Linked DNA regions of Homo sapiens: all the other regions are linked to region 1. Evidence: promoter capture Hi-C in 16 types of primary human blood cells and fetal thymus (Javierre and others, 2016). All regions are on one chromosome and are shown on one strand. Each heading gives the region's core, a stretch centred on a gene start or on the middle of the fragment in contact. The rest is flanking DNA. Distances are from core to core; before and after follow the strand shown. Region 1 holds the start of SLC10A3 (solute carrier family 10 member 3). Region 2 holds the start of AVPR2 (arginine vasopressin receptor 2). Region 3 overlaps ARHGAP4 (Rho GTPase activating protein 4).

Region 1 (4,042 bases), core at 428-2,927:
TACTGAGGTGGGAAGATCGCTTGAGCCCAGGGGTTCGAGGCTGCAGTGATTATGATGGCACTACTGCATTCCAGCCTGGGTAACAGAGCGAGACCCTGTCTCTAAATAAATAAATAAAGTTTTAAAATAAATTTAAATGTCAATAAATTTATTAAAAGTATATTATTTGGCTGGGCACGGTGGCTCACACCTGTAATCCCAGCACTTAGGGAGGCTGAGGCGGGTGGATCGTTTGAGGTCACGAATTTGAGACCAGCCTGGCCAACATGGCAAACCCTGTCTCTACTAAAAAATATAAAAATTAGCCGGGTGGTAGTGGCGCACGCCTGTAATCCCAGCTACTCAGGAGGCTGAGGCAGGAGAATCGCTTGAATCCGGGAGGCGGAGGTTGCAGTCAGCCGAGCTTGTGCCACTGCACTCCAGCCTAGGCGACAGAGCGAGACCCTGTCTCAAAAATAAATAAATAAGTAATAAAAACAAATGTATATCATTCATTTGAAACATTAGAGACGTGGGTGGTTTTGTTCTGTTCTGTTTCCACATCTGCAACCATGCGTCTTGTGCACCTACCCGGGGCAAATACCTCCGACTCCATCACAGTCTTGACAAGAGGTTGAAGTGTGCAGATTGATTCCAGTTGCACCAATAAGCTTTGGGAACATATGATCCCCCCCCCCCCAACTCTGTACTGTCTTCTGTACTGCCTTCCGACCTTCTTTCTACACATTCCCATCATATTTTTCCCCAACTTTCTGCCTTCTTTCTCTTCCTTTACCACAAAGCCTCTGCACCTTGCTAGTGGCGCCAAAGTTTGGAAAAGCAGACAAGTCCACTTAATGTTCCACAGTATAGAAACTGGCCTACGCCGGGCGCAGTGGCTCACGCCTGTAATCCCAGAACTTTGCGAGGCCGAGGCGGGTGGCTCACGAGGTCAGGAGTTCGAGACCTACCTGGCCAACATGGTGAAACCCCGTCTCTACTAAAAATACAAAAATTAGCCGGGCGCGGGGGCGGACGCCTGTAATCTTAGCTACGCGGGAGGCTTAGAGAGGAGAATGGATTGAACCCGGGAGGCGGAGGTTGCAGGGAGGCGGAGGTTGCAGTGAGCCGAGATCGCGCCACTGCACTCCGGGCTGGGTGACAGAGCAAGACTCAGTCTCAGAAAATAAATACATAAAATAGAAATAGGCGCTCGGTCAATACTTGAACGAAAGGAGGAACTCCGCACAGAGCCTGGCGTCCAGGTCGGTCAAACTCAACCCTGGGGCCCCAGGGCTGGGCACCTTGAGCGGCAACGTGGCCAAAACCCTAACCCCGGGCACCCAGCCCTGCTAACGTCTAACCCTCTGTCCCATTGCCTTTAGAGGTCGCAGCGTAATCGGGAATGCCTGGGGCTCCCTCCCAGAGCGGGTCGCCCCAGCGATCACAACAGCTTCAGATGCGCTGCCAAGCGATTGGTCCAGGCAGCGCCAAGCGCCGACCAGCTCACCCGCACCGCGCCCGCGCCGGCGCGTCACTCCCAGAGACGTCACAACCGGTCGGAGCCCAGCGAGCAGCCGGAGTTGAGCTGGACGCTGAGGGGGGGGCGGGGCCCTGACGCGCGGGGCGGGGAAGGGAGGGGCTTCGGTGGGGCGGGGCCCTGACAGGCCGAGCTCGCGGGCGACTGCCGGCCAGGCAGACGCTGCAGCTAAGCTGCGCGGTGGCTGTGGCAGGTGAGAGCCTCCGGAAGGGAGGCGGCCTCTGGCCCCGACCCTGCTCCGCGATCGCCCACTCGGGCGCCCGGCCGGGCCTGGCAGGGAAGGGCCGCCGCCGCCGCCGCGCGTTTGCGAGGCCTGGCGGGGCCGCGGGGCCCAGGAATGGCGTAAGGGGCCCCCCCAGACTCCGAGACGGCCCGAGCGGGTCGCCGGCTGTGGGACGGCGGCGTGCCCTTCCTTTCCTCCCTCCCAGGTTCGCGCCCGAGCTCTGCTAGCCACCCGTCCGACAACTTCCGGACTCCCAGGTAGGGAGGAGCCCCTGTTAGCACTGCCAGTTACCCCGAACACTTGGCCGTTTTGGAAGGGCCGGGACTCCCTCCCCTGCCTTGTGGGTGCATCTGCTCAAACTCTGTCGGCCCCTCAAGCAGAAATGGTGTGGGATCTGGGCCAAACCCCTCTTGGAGTGACTCAGAGCCGCCAGCCCTACTGGAGGGATGGGGCATGGGGTGGATGGCCCCTAGCCTTTCCCTTCTGAGCTGGTTTGTATCACCCCGGTGGCTTCAGTCCTGGTGCCTTCATCTTAGCTCCTGTACTTTGCCTCTCCCACCCCACTGGTTTTCCTGCCTCCCTCTTCAGAGGTAAGACACATGGCTGGACCAAGGCCTCCAGGGTAAGTGACCCGAACTTCAAGCCAGCAGAGGCCATGTCATCCTAAGCTAGGGATAGGGGAGGCTCGCCGGGATGAGCCTTTGGCTTAACCTAACCTCTGCTCCCTACTTCTGCCTCACCCCAGTCTCAGATGACGGGAGGCCAATGCCAAAGACGGATAGGATCTATAGAGGCAGTCCTCTTCTAGGACTGGGACACAACAGTGCATGAGGCAACTGACAGGGGTGATGTAAAGCTGTTGTGTCTCCATCCTGGTTGCCCCAGTTCTAGCAGGTGATGTGACACTACGGTGGTCGCTGCCCAGATTGAGAAGTGGAAGGGGGTGTTGCTGGCCGCTAGAAACACTCATAATTCCACTGAGTTTGAGGCTCTGGTAGGGGCGCATGTGGGCATGGGAAGGAGCCCTGCACTCTGAGCACAGCCTCTCAGATGTAACGCAGTGGCTCTGGGAGGTCAAAGTCTCAGCCCAGTGGGAGCTCTGACAAAAGGAGGAGAAACCCCCCCAGTAGACATGTGGCTCTGTCTGATCCACTCCTGCCGCCCCTTCTGGCAACTTCCCTGGGGAGGGAGGACCTGCTTCCCAGCAGGACCTTCATCGAGTCACTGTAGGGGCAGGTAGAGTGGGCCAGGGAGCCACAGCTGAATGGCACTCAAGGGCCATCACTAGGCATTGCCTCTCCATTCCTGAGTGTGGGGCAAGGGTCCCTGCTGAGTTTTACTCTTAGCAGTGGGCTTCCAGATCCCCATGCTCCTGGGTTCTTGACTGCCTCCCTCTTCAGAGGTAAGACACATGGCTGGACCAAGGCCTCCAGGGTAAGTGACCCTCACCAGCTGCCTCTCTGTGTCCCTTACCTCCTCAGGGACAGCCCTGCCATCAAGGAAGACAGCACAGGACTGGGACCCACCCATGAACCCTTCTCAGGACAACCCAACAGCACCAGTGGGGATGTTCTCCTAAGCCGCAGAGGGCCTGGGCACGCCATCCGTCCTCCAGGAAGAGCCATGGTGTTAATGCAGGACAAGGGCAGCTCTCAGCAGTGGCCTGGTCTGGGGGGCGAGGGTGGTGGCACAGGTCCCTTAAGCATGCTCAGAGCTGCCCTGCTGCTCATCAGCCTGCCATGGGGGGCCCAAGGGACAGCCAGCACCAGCCTCAGCACTGCTGGGGGTCACACCGTGCCACCGACTGGGGGCCGCTACTTGAGCATTGGAGATGGCTCTGTGATGGAGTTTGAGTTTCCTGAGGACAGTGAGGGCATCATCGTGATCTCCAGCCAGTACCCAGGCCAGGCCAACAGGACGGCGCCTGGCCCCATGCTCAGGGTCACCTCCCTGGACACAGAGGTGCTGACCATCAAGAACGTGAGTGCTATAACCTGGGGAGGCGGGGGTGGCTTTGTGGTGAGCATCCACTCAGGCCTGGCTGGGCTGGCCCCACTCCACATCCAGCTCGTGGACGCCCATGAGGCCCCGCCCACACTGATTGAGGAGCGGAGAGACTTCTGCATCAAGGTCTCACCTGCTGAAGACACGCCTGCCACCCTCAGCGCCGACCTGGCCCACTTCTCGGAAAACCCAATCCTCTACCTGCTCCTGCCTCTTATCTTTGTCAACAAGTGTTCGTTTGGGTGCAAAGTGGAACTCGAGGTTCTGAAGGGGCTCATGCAGAGCCCCCAGCCCAT
Region 2 (4,042 bases), core at 1-2,500, 590 kb after region 1:
CGGTGGCGGTCCAGCGTCATGGCCAGGATCATGTAGGAGGAGGCATACATGCCCACCATCTGCAGATACTTCACGGCCCGACACAGGGCATCTGGCCCACGGAAGCGGTCGGTGGCCTTCCAGGCCAGCTGGGGCAGCACTTGGAACAGAGCCACGGCCAGGTCGGCCAGGCACAAGTGGCCAATGAAGACGTGTATGGGTGCCCAGTGGCCCCGCCGGCCCCGCCGAGCTAGGGCCGCCAGCACCAGGCCATTGCTCAGGGCCACAGCCACAAAGACTATGGAGAGCAGCGCCAGCTCCGCCCGGGCTAGCAGCGGGTCCCGGGTGTCCAGTGGCCTCTCCTGGCTGCTGTTGCTGGGCAGGCTGGGCAGAGAGGGATGCCCAGGCACAGCTGGGAAGGAGTCGGGAAGAGGGCCTGGTTAGAGAGGGTGCTGTGCAGGGGGACTCAGGCCTGCCTCCCGTGCCCCCATCCGGACACCCACTTCCTGGCTCCTAGCAGAGGGGACTCCAGGAAAGCCATGTTATGAGGGATACACACCCCAGGCTCATGCAGTCCAGAAGGAAGGGCAGCCCCAGCCCCAGCCCCAGCCCCAGCCCTGGCGGGGAAGTGGGGCTGTGCTCCCCTCCCCACTCATTGGCAGCCTGGAGAGACACACCCAGAGGTGAGGGTGAAGGAGGTCTTTAGAAAGAGGGGCTTCCCTGAATCGTCAAACCCACTCTGCCCACCGGACTCATGGAGGGGCAAGCCTTACCGGAAGTGGTGGACGCCATGAGCATGGTGGGGCTGGGGCAGGTGTTCTGAGGGCCTGGAGGTGATGTGCGGACTCAGCCTCTGCCTGAGGAGCAAGTTCAATGGCCCAGGGTCTCTGGACTGGAGCCCTTATAGAGATGCCAGCATGGCAGATGCCTGTTGGCGTGTGTGCACGTGTCGGTGGCAGTATGGCCAGTCCTGGGCAGGGAAGATTGAGAGGGATGGTCAGACAGACGGATGCACAGAACCCAGGATCCCCCAGGCAGCCCATGAGTCCCGGGTTTGGGAGTGGGCACCCCAGACAGACACGCAGAACTCCCCTGCCCCAACCGAGGCCGAGAGAGGCCACCATCCGAGGGCTGGGGACTGGGCAGGGGGGCAGGCAGGCGCAGCCCCTTACCTGGCTGGGCTCCTGGGCAGCTGGGCGGTGGCGTGAAGGTGGCTGGGTGCTCAGATCTGCTCTCCATCGGCTGCCCTGCCCTGGCCCAGCCCAGCCTCTGGGAGTGACCTGGCCAGGAGGGGACTTCCTCCCCCTCCCCCTTTCCCCCAGGCCTCCCCTGGCCTCCTGTTTCCCTTCCTTTCCCCAGGGCCTCCCTGGTCCCGGCCCAGGACTCCCTCCTCCCACTGCCATAGCCTCCACGCCCACCCTCACCCTACCACGCCCCCCTGGTTGGATTGTCTGGGTTGGCAGTGCTCTGGGAGGTCACTTAGTTCAGCATTCCCATTTTATAAGTGGGGAAACTGAGGCCAGAGAGCGGTGGGTCTGGCCCAGGACTGCGCTGCTTTTTCATGGGAGCTTCACGCCCCCTTCCCAAGTTGGGGTCCTCCTGCTCCTCGCTGGGCCCAGGCAAGGAAGGGGTGAAAACACTTTCGCTGGGCCCCTCCCAGGCCCACGCAGGCCCCTCCTCCTCCCCAGTTAGGGCCCAGTTGGCCGGAGACGAGGGACAGGAAAGGGAGGAGTGGGGCAGGGGCCAAGCCAGGCTTCACGAACCCCTGTGAGATCCAGGGACACCCCCACCCTCTTCCTCCTGCCCCACCTGCAACTACCTGTCCTAGGAAGAGGGGCTGGGGACCTCCGTGTGCTCACGGGCTCCCTCCCACCACACACAACCTCACATGATACAGCCACACAGCCACAAACACACAACACAGAGACGCTCGCTCATGTTCTTGAACATACCATGAGTATGGACGCACCTTCCCTGTACCTGAGCCCTCCTCCTCCCTCCCCCAACACCTCTCTCCTTCCCCTGTCCCCACACCCCCTCCAGCCCCCATCCCAGTAGTTCTCTTTCCACTCCCCCCGCACCCAGGCCTGGCTTGGCTCAGCCGAGGCCAGCCCAGCCCAGCCCAGCCCAAGGCAGCTGCTTTCTTCCTGTTTGTCTGTCTTCTCTGTTGCCTGTGAAGCCAGAGACCAAAACAGCCTCACGGACCAGGCCCAAGTCCGGCCCGCGGCCAAGGCCTCCTCTTCCTGCCCAGAGAGCCTGGCAGCACCCTGGCCCCTCCCGGCCCTGTTAGGGTGGTGGGAACACAGGGTGGGCATTTTCCAGAGACAGCGCACACACCACACCACATACATACATGCACACAGCCACACGCCACACACACATGCACCCACCACACACCCATACGCCACACCACACACACACCACACCATGCACACATATATTACACACCACACACATGCACACATCACACACTCCCATACGCCACACACCCACACATGTACCCACCACACAGCCATACACACCACATACGCACAGCCAACACCACACACGCACACACCCGCAGCACACACAGGTGCACATCACACCCCGCATCTTTGCCATGTTTTTGCAGAGCCCCTTGGGGGCAGGCTGCAGAGTGCTGGCACCCCAGGCCTGACGCTTCAGCTGCATCTCCTCAGCGCATGCACATCCTCATGCTGTCCCCAATAACCGCATGCTGTCACTAATCTAGGAGCATAGAAAAGGCCTTCCTAATGCCACCCAGATCAGTGGAATAGGAGATGGCTTCCCTCAACTGGCAGAGAATTTGGGGACCCTGGCTGGGGAATAGGAAAGCAAGGCTCCAGCCCCTGCTTGGCCCCTGCCCAGTAGTGTGACCTTGAACAGGCCACGCCAGCTCTTGGCACCTCAGCTTCCCCTTCTGTGCAATGGGACTTGATGATTGAGGGAGACTACGGTGGTAAGATGGGCAGGGGTGGGGACTGGCAGGGCCTTGGGAAAGCCTTTGTTCCCTCCGTCTAAAGCCGGCTAGGGCGAGGAATCCATGCTAACCTTTTGGGGTGAGCAGACAACCATCTCCTTATCAGTTTCTCTGCCTGAACGAGGCTGTGCAGTGCCGGATCTCAGCAGCAGGTTGGGACCTCCCCTAGCAATGTGGCCAGGCCCGTGGCAATCTCTGCCCCCCTGGACTCCTCGCTTCCTGTTGTTAAACTAGGGAAGAATCTGGAGGAAGGGCCCGCATGGCGGTCTCCTCTGGGATGCAAGAAGCCAGATCAGGATCCAGTGCCATTCTGCTCAGCCAGGACCCCGGGGAGGAACTGGGAGCCACATGGGCAGGCACTACATGGAACTGTGCCAGGAGAGAGGCCCTGGGCAGCCACCCCTCGGGGGCCAAGAAAGATGGGGCTGGGCAGCAGCTCCCATGGGAAGAAGGGCAGACTGTGCTGATTCACGCTAGGCCCACATGAGTCACTCAAGCCCCTGCCCTTGGGCGTTAACGGGCAGGGCATCTACCTGGGGGTGTGCCAGGCCCCCACTCCTGCCAGCGCAGCCCCTGTGTGCACACCTCCCACTGGTCCCTCTAAGACTTGCAGAAAGGGCTCTGTGAGTGCCAAGGTGTGGCTCCTGATCTTCCAGCCTAGTGTCTGGGCAGAAGAGGACAGGAGGCAGATTGGGGGGACACTGTTTGTCCCTCTCTATCTACCGGTTCCCCATGATCAGAACCTTCCATTCACCAAACTGCAAGTGCCGCTGGCCTAGCACTGTGGCTGCAGAGATGGAAGGACCTGGGCTCTGCCCCAGGAGCACATGGGCTTCTGCAGAGAAGAGTGGAGGCAGGGAGGCTGGTGGAAGCTGTGCCTGTCACCCAGGAGAGAAATGGTGCGACCCACTTAACACTGGGCAGCGGGGCTAGAGGGAGCAGGCAGGTGGAAAAGGCATTTAAAGGGCCCTGAAGGATTTGTAAGGGGTGGAAGACAAAGAGGAGGCAGCCAAGGACGAGGAGAAAGAGGCCCCCGATTGTGTGGGAGGGGTGCATGTGCAGATGGTGGAGCCTGTGGGCAGT
Region 3 (4,042 bases), core at 1,534-4,033, 570 kb after region 1:
GCTGGCCCAGGGCCCGATGCTCTCCCCAGCGACCTCTGGAGCGGGGGTGGAGGAGGGAGCCTGAGCCCCTTGCCTGCCTCCCGACGCCCATTTGGCCTCAACCGCCTGCCATTTTCCCTTCCTTCTTTCCTGTCTTCCTTCCTTTGGTCTCTGTCCTCCTTGGGTCTACCGCTTCTCACCCAAGGTTCAGTGGAGACACTGGTGGCCGCTGGTAAAAGAGAGCCAGATGCACCAACGTGCCCCTCAGAAGGCAGTATTTTAGCTACAGTGAAGTCAACCAGCTTGATTGGGCTGGGGGGTGAGTAAGGGAGTCCGGGTGAGTGGATTGGTGGAGATCACCTGGCCGTAACCCCACTGCAGTCCCTGGAGCTTCAGCACCTTTTGCCTCCCTTTAGCACTGAGGGGGAGCAGAGGCGAGGGCCACTGTCTCTGGGTCAAGCTGGCGCAGTGAGTCTTGGTTGAGAGATTTAACAGGGCTGGCTTCTCAGCCTTCTGAAATTGAACCTCTGGGTTCTGATAAACACCCATGTGCAAATCACATGCAAATCAGCTTTGCAAATTCTTAGCCAATAGCTTGTGCCCATCTTATTCAGGGCATGGTAACTCTTGCAAAGGAAAGAGGCAGCAGCTCAGTGCCAGCAGCTCGTCCATATCACTCTCAATCACTCCATTTTACCAATTACGGAAACAAGCTCAGAGAGGTGCAGTGACTTGCCCGTGGTCATACAGCACTGCAACTTCTAGGACGTAGAATGCAATGACCCTTGAAGTGCCTTTGAACCCAGAGATGTAGGTTCTAACATCATTATTCAGTGCAAGCAATTTATACCAAAGTATGCTCCAGTCCTCCTTTGGAAAAGGCAGCCTGTGTCCAGAGCCAGCTTGAGGTGACTACACAGGGTGAGCCAGCTTTCCAAGCCTCGCCATCATCTTGCTCAGATGGAGGTAATGATCTCCATCCTGCTTCCCCAAAATGCCATGAAGCTGAAAGACTTGGAAAACTTCAGTCAGCAAATATGGGTCAGTGATTTCACACTGAAAAGTTGGGGTTTCGAGCACGACTGTCTAAGGGTTCCTCACTTGCTCTGGGTCTGCATCCCACACCCTGGAAAAGCTTCCTACCATTCTACAAAGTGGGGTCACTGTCTTGACACCCTAAATTCTCAAAGGTCAGCATAGCGGTGGTTTTGGAGACCATCTTTTCTTCTGTTTTGCTTGTCAGCAGAAGTGAGACCAAATGCCTTGCTCACAGGAAGTGCTGGTGGGGCCCGGGGCCCAGCTCTGTAATTCAGGCAGACATGGATTCCAGCTCTCCTTTTGCCAGATGTTTCCTATACATCTGTGCTGTCCCAGGCCCTGGGAGTATACTGCTGTACCAGAGAGAACCCCGACTCCAGCCCCTCCAGCCCTGGCTTTTTACCCAGAGTAAAAGCAATGATTCAATGAGGACTCCCCTGATTTCAAATGGCGTCAGTGGCCACCCCGCCCTCACATGGCTCACGGGTCTAGTGGGGGAGACATAGACTTTGCATTATGATAATAAGCACTACAAAGGGAAGGAAAGTGCACGGTGCCAAGAAGGGGTCGGAAGAGGGCCAGCCCTAGTTTAGGGGGAGGTCAGGACAGGGTGTGCTGACGAGTTTGTCTGAACTGAGATCCGAAAGCTCTGCCAGGAAAGCCACCAATGCAATCGACTTGCAATTCACAAGTTGCCTGCTCAACACCAGCCGGTGTGCATGCCCGGATCTGGACTAGGACATGGCTTCCAGTCAGCTTTTGCTGCCGGCAGTGATGAAGAAAGGCAGCGGTTCCCTCTGCTGGTTCCTTCTGCACTGTTCAGTTGTCATAAGTCCCCAGGGATTGTATTCCTCTGGGGGAAGCAGGGCAGGGCAGGCTCCAGAGGGCCAGTGAGGCGAGCAGTTGTCTAACACCTTTCTTGGAATGAAATGAAATTTACTTTTATCAAAAAATGTTAAACTGGGCCAGGCGTGGTGGCTCACGTCTGTAATCCCAGCACTTTGGGAGGCCGAGGCGGGCGGATCACCTGAGGTCAGGAGTTCAAGACCCAGTCTGGCCAACATGATGAAACCCTGTCTCTACTAAAAATACAAAAATTAGCTGGGTGTGGTGGTGCGCCCCTGTAGTCCCAGCTACTCGGGAGGCTGAGGCGGGAGAATCGCTTGAACCCGGGAGGCGGAGGTTGCAGTGAGCCGAGATCGCACCACTGTACTCCAGCCTGGGCAACATCCTCCGTCTCAAAACAAAAAATCAAAACAAAACGTTAAACTGATTCAGTGAGGACTCTCCTGATTTCAAATGGCATTAGCGCCCACCCCACCTGGCCTTGGAGCTGACGAGTTAACCACAGGAGGCCAGCCTCGGATAGGATGAAGACACTCTCCATCTGTCTCACTTGGCATCGTGGGCTCTGCCCTGCTCTGTCGGGAGGTCCCGTGCCCCAGGCTTCCACTTACCCAGCTTGATCTGCCGGTGGGAAGAGCTCTCCTGTTCAGTAATTCAATTGGAAGGGTCAGGCTCCTGGGTCCCTCACCTGGCTAGTCTGGTGGGGGCAGGGAGTGGAGGGACAGAGGGATGGGTGACGCATGCAGCCAGGGCTGGGGCACCTGGAGTCAAGGGGGCTGAGACTAGGAAGGGGACATTCTCCAATAGGAGATCAGGGGAGGAGGTAGGGATGCTGGGCAGGCGGAACCCACAGGGTCCCCATGCAACAGCCCCTGGGAAGTCACTGGCGGGACAGAAATCCAATGGGATTGAGCTCTTCTCAGCGGAGTCCTCCCTCGCTGCTGCTGGTCTGAATCCTGCCGTCTTTTGCCTGGACTAGCACAGTAGCTGCCACCTGGGCTCCACCTGGCAGTGTGAGGGGGCCCTGAAAACGAAGCTGGACCACATCACCCCACTACTGTGGCTCCTCTCTCACTCGGAGTCCAGCTGGGAGCTCTGCCCAGACCCCGGGCTCTGTGCCATCTGTCCCTACCGGTCTCTCGGACTCCCCCTACTGCCCACGTACAGCCAGCTCCAGCCTTCTGCTCCAACGATGCGGCTTGTTCTTGACCACCCTCCTTTAAAAAGAGGTCCTCCCTGTCCCCACCCACCCCTGGCTCTGATCTTGCTTTGTGGGTTCATCTTCTCCGCACCCATCACTCCTGGGCATTCTGATATGTGTTCGTGCCCCATTCCAATCCCAGCTCCAAGAGGGCAGACACTTGGTCAAACCTCTTTGCCTTTGTATTTAAAACGTGCCTGCCACAGAATGGGTGCATAATCAACATTCTGCTGAATGAAGACATCAATTCATGTCCCTCCCTGGGGATGTGGATGGAGATGAGTAGGTGGGCAGCCTGCTGGCCAGAAGCTGAGCTAGCATCTTATTTACTCGGGACGGGCACTCAGGAGATGGCAAAAGTGTCTTCCGCAGGTTGCTTAAACTTGCTGGACAGGCACTTCTTTGCTTCAGGCCTGTGTGGGGGAAGCAGCGTTGCCAAATCAAGCCAGTGATAGGGTGTCAAAAGGCCGGCAGTATGGGGCCCTGGGTGTGACTCTCTCTGCAGGGTGGGGGAATGCACAGGTGGGGCGGGGGGTGATTGGGAGTGGGAAGTGGGGTCAGAAGACGGGGGCTAGCTCCCTGCCCCATTCTTTCACTTACAAGGCCGGATCAGCTCTCCCTGGCTCCCAGCCCTCACTGTGGACTGTCCTTTCCCCTGGGGCCTGAGGGCAGGCTTCCCCAGCCACTGAGACTGCGAGATCGCTGCAGGCTTGCCCTGAGCAGCACTGTGATCTGTGTGTTGTGTATCCGTGTGTTTGCAAGGGAGGCTGCCACCTCCCGGAGCCTGGGTACCGGCGGGAAAGGAAGTCGCAGGGGAAACCATTCAGAGGCTTTCCAGGAACGAGGGAGAGACAGGAAGCCAAACTGAAAGGTGCCTGGCTGGCGCTGGGGCGGCTCTCCCCTCTCTCTGGGACACCCTTCCCCTTCCCCCTCAACCGGGTGGCTCTGGCCATCTGTTGGCCTCAGCGCAGAGGTCGG

What was found. The method cuts DNA at HindIII sites, captures the fragments that hold promoters and counts their contacts. A CHiCAGO score of 5 or more calls a contact.
Region 2: the fragment with the promoter of AVPR2 here is called in contact with the fragment with the promoter of SLC10A3 in region 1 in 2 of 17 cell types (total CD8 T cells and monocytes); the score reaches 5.6 in total CD8 T cells.
Region 3: a contact is called between a fragment that was not itself captured here and the fragment with the promoter of SLC10A3 in region 1, in 2 of 17 cell types (monocytes and non-activated CD4 T cells). The highest score is 5.2, in monocytes.

The regions. Positions count from the first base shown.
Region 1 is chrX:154,488,264-154,492,305 of GRCh38, reverse strand. It overlaps SLC10A3 (solute carrier family 10 member 3), which reads left to right and starts at 1,677. Exons shown (of 2, transcript NM_019848.5): 1 at 1,677-1,999; 2 at 3,224-4,042. The coding sequence starts at 3,366. RefSeq lists a silencer at 1,445-1,954. The HindIII fragment of the contact is 4,164 bases long and covers 653-4,042 here.
Region 2 is chrX:153,901,881-153,905,922 of GRCh38, reverse strand. It overlaps AVPR2 (arginine vasopressin receptor 2), which reads right to left and starts at 1,250. Exons shown (of 4, transcript NM_000054.7): 1 at 1,152-1,250; 2 at 753-949; 3 at 1-391. The coding sequence starts at 777. The HindIII fragment of the contact is 5,945 bases long and covers 1-4,042 here.
Region 3 is chrX:153,922,017-153,926,058 of GRCh38, reverse strand. The region is part of intron 1 of ARHGAP4 (Rho GTPase activating protein 4); the gene reads left to right. Among named protein-coding and RNA genes, the nearest start is that of ARHGAP4, 2.2 kb to the left of the region's middle. RefSeq lists a silencer at 1-40 and enhancers at 1,499-1,628, 2,135-2,635. The HindIII fragment of the contact is 3,334 bases long and covers 1,117-4,042 here.